Linked DNA regions of Homo sapiens: region 2 is linked to region 1. Evidence: promoter capture Hi-C in human tissues and cell types (Jung and others, 2019). All regions are on one chromosome and are shown on one strand. The core of a region is centred on a gene start or on the middle of the fragment in contact, and the rest is flanking DNA. Distances in the headings are between cores, read along the strand shown. Region 1 holds the start of PRSS48 (serine protease 48). Region 2 overlaps FHIP1A (FHF complex subunit HOOK interacting protein 1A).

Region 1 (4,364 bases), core at 910-3,409:
CTGGTGCTTTGGGAGGATGAGGTGGGAGAACTGCTTGAGGCCTGGGCAATATAGTGAAACCAGGTCTCTAAAAAAAAAATTGAAAAAGAAAAAGATTTCCACATTTCTCTTTCTCTTCTTTCTCTAGTGTGCTGGTGACCTGTATACTCAAGACGTGTTGTAGATGGCCAAGATGCTGCTGCAGGGTGCTGGCCTTGGCAGGTCAGCCTATACTTGGGCCACAGCTTTATCTGTGGATGTTCCCTGGTCAGTGAGAGGTGGATACTGACAACAGCACACTACATACAAGTGTGAGCTCTAGCTGGTAGCTAGCACACAGACAGGTTCTCAGTGAATATTTGCATGACTACATAAATGAACCAATAGACAAATGAAAGTGGTAAGATTGACTGGGCACAGTGACTCACGCCTATAACCCCAGCACTTTGGGAGGCTGAGGTGGGTGGATTGCTCAAGTCCAGGAGTTCAAAACCAGCCTGGGCAACATGGCCAAACACCGTCTCTACAAAAAATATAAAGAAATTAGCCTGACATGATGGTGCATGCCTGTAGTCCCAGCTACTTGGGAGGCTGAAGCAGGAGGATTGCTTGAGCCCGGGAGGTGGAGGATGCGGTGAGTTTAGATCATGCCACTGCACTCCAGCCTGGGCGAGAGAGTGAGACCCTGTCTGAAAAGAAAAGGAAAAAAATGTGGTGAGATAGGCAGGGCAGAAGGAAACCCTAGGTCACATGGGACTCTCAAACTAGGGATGACCAGAGATAAGGCACAGAAGTAGAAAAAGGAATGTTGGAGACAGGTGCTATATTAGAGACTTTTCTTACTTTTCACAAATCACTTCCTAAATACTAGTCAGGGTTTTTTTTTTCTTCTTTTGGGCCACAAACACAACAGGTGTGGTTCAACCACACCTGTAGTCCCAGCTACTAGGGAGGCTGAGTGGGAGGATTGCTTGAACCCAGGAGTCTGAGGTTGCAGTGGGCTATGATTGCACCACTGCACTCTAACCTGGGTGACAGAGTGAGACTCTGTCTCTTAAAAAAAAAATGCTCTATGAAGATTCAAATTTAGCTTTTACTTGATTCAAGGTCACCATCAGGAATATGAAGTATGTTAGTTTATAAATACAATGATGCCCTCAGATGCGGTTGAGGTTGCAAGCTGTTTACTTTTGTGCTATTTGGTTTAACTGAATTGGCATTTTGCAGTATTTGTGTATCTTTCTTCTTTGCTACCTGTTAAGTTTTTTGCTCTCTCAGCATACCCTTTCTGTTTTTTGGGGGGACGGGGTCTTACTCTGTCGCTAAGGCTGGAGTGCAGTGGCGCTATCTCGGCTTACTGCAACCTCCACTTTCCAGGCTCAAGCACTTCTCCTGCCTCAGTCTATTGAGTAGCTGGGACTACAGGTGCCCGCCACCACGCCCGGCTAATTTTTGTATTTTTTGTAGAGATGGGGTTTCACCATGTTGCCCAGGCTGGTCTTGAACTCCTGATCTCAGGTGATCTGCCCGCCTTGGCATCCCAAAGTGCTGGGATTACAGGCGTGAGCTGCTGTGCCTGGCCAGTATACCCTTCCTTTAAATCCCTGTGGACCAGAAAAATAAATGAACAAGCATATACCTGAAATCATAGAATAGTGTTTGCTCTTCCAGTTCCCTCTGCTTGAGATGCTCTTTTCCTGGATCCTCTTACTTAATTTAGTTATCCCCTTCAGTTCTGCTCAAATGACTCCTTCTTAGTGAGGCCTTCTTTAACTACCCTTCTAAAGATTGCAACACTCCTGCCCCTGTACTTCAGATGCCCCTTTCCTTTCATAGTACTTATTACCTTCTAACAAGCCTTATAATTTACACATTTAATATGTGCATTGATTATAAGTCCCACGAAGATAGGGATCTTGTGGGTGTGTGTGTGTACTGCTATTTCCAATCGGGAGCATTGGAATGGTGCTGGGTATATAGTAGCCTCTCAGGACCTTCTCAGGCTGTGCTACTCATAACTAACATCCCATGGGTGAAGTGTCACATTGTTCTATGTGATGCCCTCTTTAGTAAAAATCCTCTGCCTCTGCCTTCTCAACCCCACCCTGGCGCTCACCTGAGATCCCCAGCAGAAGGAGCAGCGTGAAGGCACAGCCAGCAGGGCCCATGTCTCTGTCCTCAGAGCCAGTGAGCGCTTCCTGCTTCCTGGACTCAGGCTCCCAGGAAGAGGCCAATGGGGAGCTGCCAGAACTAGCTTCTCCTAGATGGATTCCTCTGCTTCACCCCCTCCTCTCCTTTGGTCTTCACCCGCTGCCAGATCCTGAAGGGACCAGACTTCAGAAGTGCAGCTGCAGGACCCAGGGGAGGAACTGGGGTCTGTGGCGCCCCCTGCTGTCCTGGGAGAGCAGGGTTTCTGGGGTTTCTGCCTGTGGTGTTGAGGAGTGGCTGGTTGAGGGCACTGGAAGAAACAGGACCCTGTCTCTAGCAAGGAGATAGAAGGTGGACAGGATTCTCCAAAAGCAAGAAATGGAAAAGAGGAAATGAACCCAGTATCTGGTTAATTTTTCTGAGTTTTTTTGTTTGTTTGTTTTCATTTCTGTTACAGTGTTAGCTGCACTGCAAGTCAAGTTTCCTGGGAAACAGACTCTAAGACAGAGATTTGTGTGCAGGAAATTTATTTTAGAGTGGTCTCAGGATCAGCAGCTCTTGGGTGGGTAGTAGGATTGGTTAGAGGGAGAGTTGAACTGTGATGCGTTTGCAACAGAGGCCACAGCCTATCTCACAAGTTTCTCTGGAGCTGAGGTGGCCCTCAGAGACTTTCTGTACTGAGCTAAGAAGGATGCGTTCTTAGGGGTCTGCATCATTGGATGCAGGCCACCTCCTAGGAGGGGGCATTACCTTGGGTGAGGTGGCTCTGTTGGCAGTTCTTGGAATAAGACTTAGCTGTGAACTGTCAGCAGCCAACACTCCTAGCTGCTAAGGGAATGAATGCTTCAGTTCTAAAGGGGGGTCTGGATGGTACACCACAACATCTACCTCAGAAATCTTCACTCTGCCTTTTGTTTTCTGTGCCAATTGTTTGTAGGGTGCTAGGTCTGTGGAGGCAGAATTCAATGAACTATTAAAATGTTACTGCTCTCTTGCAACTTAAAATATTGGGATGCTTGAAAGAAACATATAAGCAGTTTAAAACTAATAGGCCAGGCACGGTGGCTCATGCCTGTAATCCCAGCACTTTGGGAGGCCGAGGCGGGTGGATCACCTGAGGTCAGGAGTTTGAGACCATCCTGGCCAACATGGTGAAATCCCGTCTCTACTAAAAATACAAAAATTAGCTGGGTGTAGTGGCGTGCACCTGTAGTCACAGCTACTCGGGAGGCTGAGGCAGGAGAATCGCTTGAACCCGGGAGGCGGAGGTTGCAGTGAGCCAAGATGGCGCCACTGCACTCCAGCCTGGGCGACAGAGCGAGACTCCGTCTAAAAAAAAAAAAATAATAATAATAATAATAATAATAGAAGTGGCTGGGCGTGGTAGCTTACGCCTATTATCCCAGCACTTTGAAAGGCTGAACGGGGAGGATCCCTTGAGACCAGGAGTTTGAGATCAGCCTGGGCAATACAGTGAGACCCTATATCTACAAAAATTTAAAAATTAGCCTGGTGTAGTGATGTGCACCTGAAGTCCCCAGCTACTCGGGAGGCTGAGGCAGGAGGATCACTTGAAGTCAGTAGTTCAAGGCTACATGAGCTATGACTGTACCACTGTGCTCCAGCTTGGGCGACGGAAAGAACCTGTCTCAAATAATAATGGAAGACCAGAAAATGTAGATATTTTGGTAAGAACTATTCAGTTACAGGCAACTGAGGCTCACTTAAGCTAGCTTAAATCAAGAGGAGATTATTTTAAAGCTATTGTTTTGAGCTGAATTATGTCTCCTCAAAAATGTATCTTGAGGCTGGGCATGGTGGCTCACGCCTGTAATCCCAGCACTCTGGGAGGCCGAGGCGGGTGGGTCACGAGGTCAGGAGATCGAGACCATCCTGGCTAACACAGTGAAAACCCGTCTCTACTAAAAAATACAAAAAATTAGCCGGGTGTAGTGGCGAGTGCCTGTAGTCCCAGCCACTTGGGAGGCTGAGGCAGGAGAATGGCGTGAACCCTGGAGGCAGAGCTTGCAGTGAGCCGAGATCGCGCCACTGCACTCCAGCCTGGGCGACAGAGCAAGATTCCGTCTCAAAAAAAAAAAAACGTATCTTGAAGTCCTAACCGCACTTCCATACTTCAGAGTATGACAATATTTGGAGATAAGGTCTTTAAAGAGGTAATTATATTAAAAAGAGGTCATTAGGTTGGGTTCTAATCTCATATGAGTGATGTCCTTAGA
Region 2 (4,364 bases), core at 834-3,333, 350 kb before region 1:
CCTCACAAAGTAAAAGTCAGTAGTTGGAGTTTTCTCTGGATCTTGCCACACTGTGTTGGGGAGGGGACATGGCTAGAGCAGGTAATAATGCCACCAATTTTCCTGCACACTTCAATATGTCTCTTCTTGGCTTTGTGCTACAACCTCTTAACTGGTGTTCTTACAAAGTTTCTGAAGTTCTTACAAAAGCAGTTTGGTCATAAATTTTTGTTAAGTGGGTTTCTCTGTGAGGGAATAAGGGCCTGGGTCTTCCTATTCCACCATTTTGCTGACATCACTTTTTAACTAGTGCCTAAATGTTTGATAGAATTCACCAGTGAGGCCATCTGGGTCTGGGCTTTTCTTTGTGAGTAGTTCTTTTAATTTCTATTTTAATCTTATTTTGATATAAATTTATTTAGATCTTCCATTTCATAAGTTTGTGTCTTTCTAGAATTTGTCTATTTCATCTAAGTCATCCTTTGGCATATAGTTGCTCATGGTCCTAATTGTTTTTATTTCTGTAAGGTTGATAGTAATATCCTCCTCTTTCATTTCTCATTTTAGTAATTTGAGACTTCCCTCTTTTTTTCTCAGCCTAGCTAAAGGTTTGTGAATCTTGTCAAAGAACCAACTTTTTATTTCACCTATTTTCTCCATTTTTTTAATTTTCTATTTCATTAATTTCTGCTCTAATCTTTATTGTTTTCTTTCTGCCTGCTTTGTTTGCTCTTCTTTTTCCAGTGTGTTAAAGTAGAAGCTTAGGTTACTGCTTTGAGCTCTTTCTTCTTTTTTTAACATATGTGTTCACAACTATATATTTCCCTTTAAACAATGCTTTCACTGTGTCTCATAAGTCTGGATATATTTTGTCTTCATTCTCATTTATCTCAAAGTAAATTCTCATTTTCCTTGTGATTTCTTCTTTGACCCACTGATTAGAAGTGTGTCAATTTCCATATACTTGTGAATTTCCCAAATTTCTTTCTGTCAATAATTTTTTAATTTCCATCCATCATGATCAGAGAACATGCTTTGCATGATTTCAATCCTCTTAAATTCACTGAGGCTTGTTATATGGCCTAGCACATGGTCTGTCTTGGAGAATATTCCATGTACATTTGAGGAGAATGTGTATTATGTTGCTGATAAGTGTAGTGCTAATTGAATATTTTCTCTAGTATAACATTTTAATTCCTTTAAAAGATTTTTCCACTTTTTTTAGTTATTTTCTTAGTGGTTGCTCTAGGGCTTCCAGTATACATTTTAACTTATCAGAATTTACTTCAAGTTTATATTAAATTAGCTCTAGTGAAATATAGAAATATTACTCCTATATAAGTCTATTCCCTCTTCCCCCCTTTGTGCAATTATTGTTATATATTATCTCTATATATGTTGCAAACCGAATGATATATACATTCTCATTCTTTTGCTTTTAAAACAAGAATTGCAATTAACTAGAGATAGCCTTTGGGGAGGAGTATTTTTCAAGTTAATCAGAGCTTCAAAATGAAGAATGACCACCCAAATTCACAACTTTCCAAACTTCCATTTCAAGAAAACTCATGGACAGGAATATGATCTCTAACACCCAGACTTGATGCACTCTGGTTCCTTGGCTTTATCTGTGCTTAAGCCCACATGTTCCCTTGCATCTTGCCCCCACAGAAGTGCACTCTGCTAGTTCTACAGAAGAAAGTGCTAAAACAGAGAAATAGCGAAAGATGTCCTAGGAAAGGCAGTAAGTGTCACCTCTTGACAGAAGGATCCCTGAGAACAAAACGCATTATTCCATTCATCTCTACCCAAATAGAAAGAAGGTAATGGCCACAAAACAACAACAACCAAAAAAGAAAAAGAAAAAAAAAGGAGAGCAAAAGAGAATATTCATAATTTCATTCCCAAAAAAAAACTCTCCTGAAATCTGTTCTGAGTTGTAAGTTCCCTTCCTCTGGCGCTCTCCTTACCCGAAACGGGGTGTTGATTCGACTCGTGAGAGTGTCTAGGATGTGGACATTCTCGTGCTGGTGCAATAGGATAAAACGGAGGAAGATCTCAAGTAGTGCTGGCTCGGAGATGCTACGCAGGAAAAGGTCCAGATATGCAGTTGTGGTCATGACCTCTTCCACAGTCACCTAGGACAAACAACGGAGTGAGCACAGGTGAGCATCCTTTTGATGCTGTGATACACGCCTCTCCCGTGGCCCCCAGCCTCACCACAGTGACATCATCAAGGCAAGAACATGCCTGCCCACGAAAACACACTTCAGAGCTTTATTGAAGCCCATAACCTATTCACATTCCACAATACCTCATGCTGTTTCCGCCCTTTAATTCAATAAGGAAAAAGAAAGGCATAAAGAATCAATTCAAGTGTTCTGGTAACTCTAATCATCAAATGCAGTTCAAATACCATAAAGATTTTAGAGTGTAATCAAAAATGAAGAAAAAAGATAATGGAAAGTATTTACATGGTTAGTAAAGGATTAATTAGAAAGCCCGGAATAACTTGTTTCTTTATTAGTCATTCAGTAAACATTTATTGGGACCTGTTATGTACGAGGAGCTGAAAACATAACATTCCTTATGTCCAGAAAGATGAGCTATGACAAGCAAAATGATAATATAAATTGCAAAGGAGCAGTACAGACACAAAGTGCTACAGATGTTCCGATGTGTTTCTGGAGAGCTGCATGTCAAATTTTTTATAACTGAATAATACACATAAAATGTTATTTACAAAGTACTATAAGAACTTACTGCTTATAAAGTAACTGCGACTTTTTTATAACAAATTAATATATGCTACCTGGTGTAATTTTCTCATGCAGTAAAATGTCAATTTTTCAGTGAATAAGACTCTGAAGAGCCAAGTTTTTCAAGAAGCCGAGGATTTGATGCTTCAAGTATCAAAATTCTAACCTTAAACATTTTTATTGGGAGTATTTTAAGAGCTAGCATATACATCTTTGTCCTCCTAAGATGAGAATATACCATCTCTTGATGAATAGAGGTCATTCCCAGGGTCATCAATTGCCCCGCAGAAGCATAAAGAAACAGCCACACCTGAATGCGTGAAAACCACCAGAGAAATAGTTCAAACTCTCAGATTCTAATACCACACACCCTAGAAATCTTAGCAATCCCTCCACCATGAGTCAAATGCACTCGATTTTAAACAAAACAGATGGCAATACTTTTTGAGTGATTATTTTCCCTTTTCCATTTTTTAAAATCTTCTTTCATTCTCTTCCTTTAAAAGTGTTAGTTGTCACATTATCTTACGGTTACTGGGCCATTCCTTTTATATTCCATTCCTCTTCCCCTTTTAATTTTCGGCTTTTAAAATCCACAGATTAGTTTAGAAACCAGATGTCCAGATCTGCTACATAAGTGTAGATGAGCCCTGAGTGGATGCATCTGTGCATAAAGGCTTGGAGCTATCTATTTTGGCAGTTTAAATTACTTTTAAAAAGTTATTGGTGCTCAGCTTTCTTCTGGATAGATGAGCCCAGGTGGATAAGATATTACCAAGTCAGTGTGTCTGTTTTCTTTATCTAAGCAAGGCATGCTTATCCAGTGCATTAGTATCTAACGAGAAGTCATTCCACAGTGGTCTGAGTACATATCATAGCGCAAATCCCCTTCCCCTAGCTCGGTGCCAACAATGCAAGTTCTCAGTCATTCAATACACCACTATGTCATCTGACCAACTGTAAAGAGCTCTCTGTGGCCCATATACAGCAACAGAAATAGGCAACCATCAAACATTTAACAAATAAATTGCACTGGGAAGAGTGCTTTTCATGGTCTGCCCCTGCTTCTGAAACAAACTACTTCCGTCTTTGTGTTTCCTGATGTTTTCTAGTCCCATATATGAAGCACTCCTAATGCTGCCCTGGGATGCACACTGTGTCTTTTCTTTATTACCTCAATGCAATGCACAAAGCCTGGCACATAAAATGTACTTCTTCCTGAGTGAATGATAGCCCCAAAGATCTAGTGATTTATATTTGCCAGAATTTAGTTTAACTTTTAATTATCCTTTATCCTCTACATGTGTCCTGAAGGTCCCAGAAAGTAGAGACGTTTTTTATAAAGATCTCTGTAATAACTGATGTCACCAATCATAGCTAAGGGGGAAATGACTCACAACAACCCTACATTAGCTCACATCCACTTCACTACTGCAAACTTGGGATCCTTTAGCAGAAACTTAATCCTAAATGATTTAGGCAAAAATCTAATTCCCCAACAACCTTGATCACTAGAAAAAAGTTGCATAATCATTCCAAACAGGCCATGTATGTAGTTTCTGTAACACAATATTTTCAGCTTATCTATGGAACACTGCTGAACTGACATGTTATACAGAATTCCAG

Evidence for each region. The method cuts DNA at HindIII sites, captures the fragments that hold promoters and counts their contacts. A contact is called where the count stands out against the background at its distance.
Region 2: a contact is called between a fragment that was not itself captured here and the fragment with the promoter of PRSS48 in region 1, in 1 of the 25 tissues and cell types used here (small bowel).

The regions. Positions count from the first base shown.
Region 1 is chr4:151,274,956-151,279,319 of GRCh38, reverse strand. PRSS48 (serine protease 48) reads right to left here and starts at 2,159. Exons shown (of 5, transcript NM_183375.5): 1 at 2,096-2,159. The coding sequence starts at 2,147. The region is part of intron 1 of SH3D19 (SH3 domain containing 19); the gene reads left to right. LOC124900799 (a long non-coding RNA gene) reads left to right here and starts at 4,162. Exons shown (of 2, transcript XR_007058328.1): 1 at 4,162-4,364. The HindIII fragment of the contact is 14,422 bases long and covers 1-4,364 here.
Region 2 is chr4:151,627,455-151,631,818 of GRCh38, reverse strand. FHIP1A (FHF complex subunit HOOK interacting protein 1A) reads right to left here. Exons shown (of 14, transcript NM_001109977.3): 8 at 1,950-2,117. Among named protein-coding and RNA genes, the nearest start is that of GATB, 130 kb to the left of the region's middle. The HindIII fragment of the contact is 5,480 bases long and covers 1-4,364 here.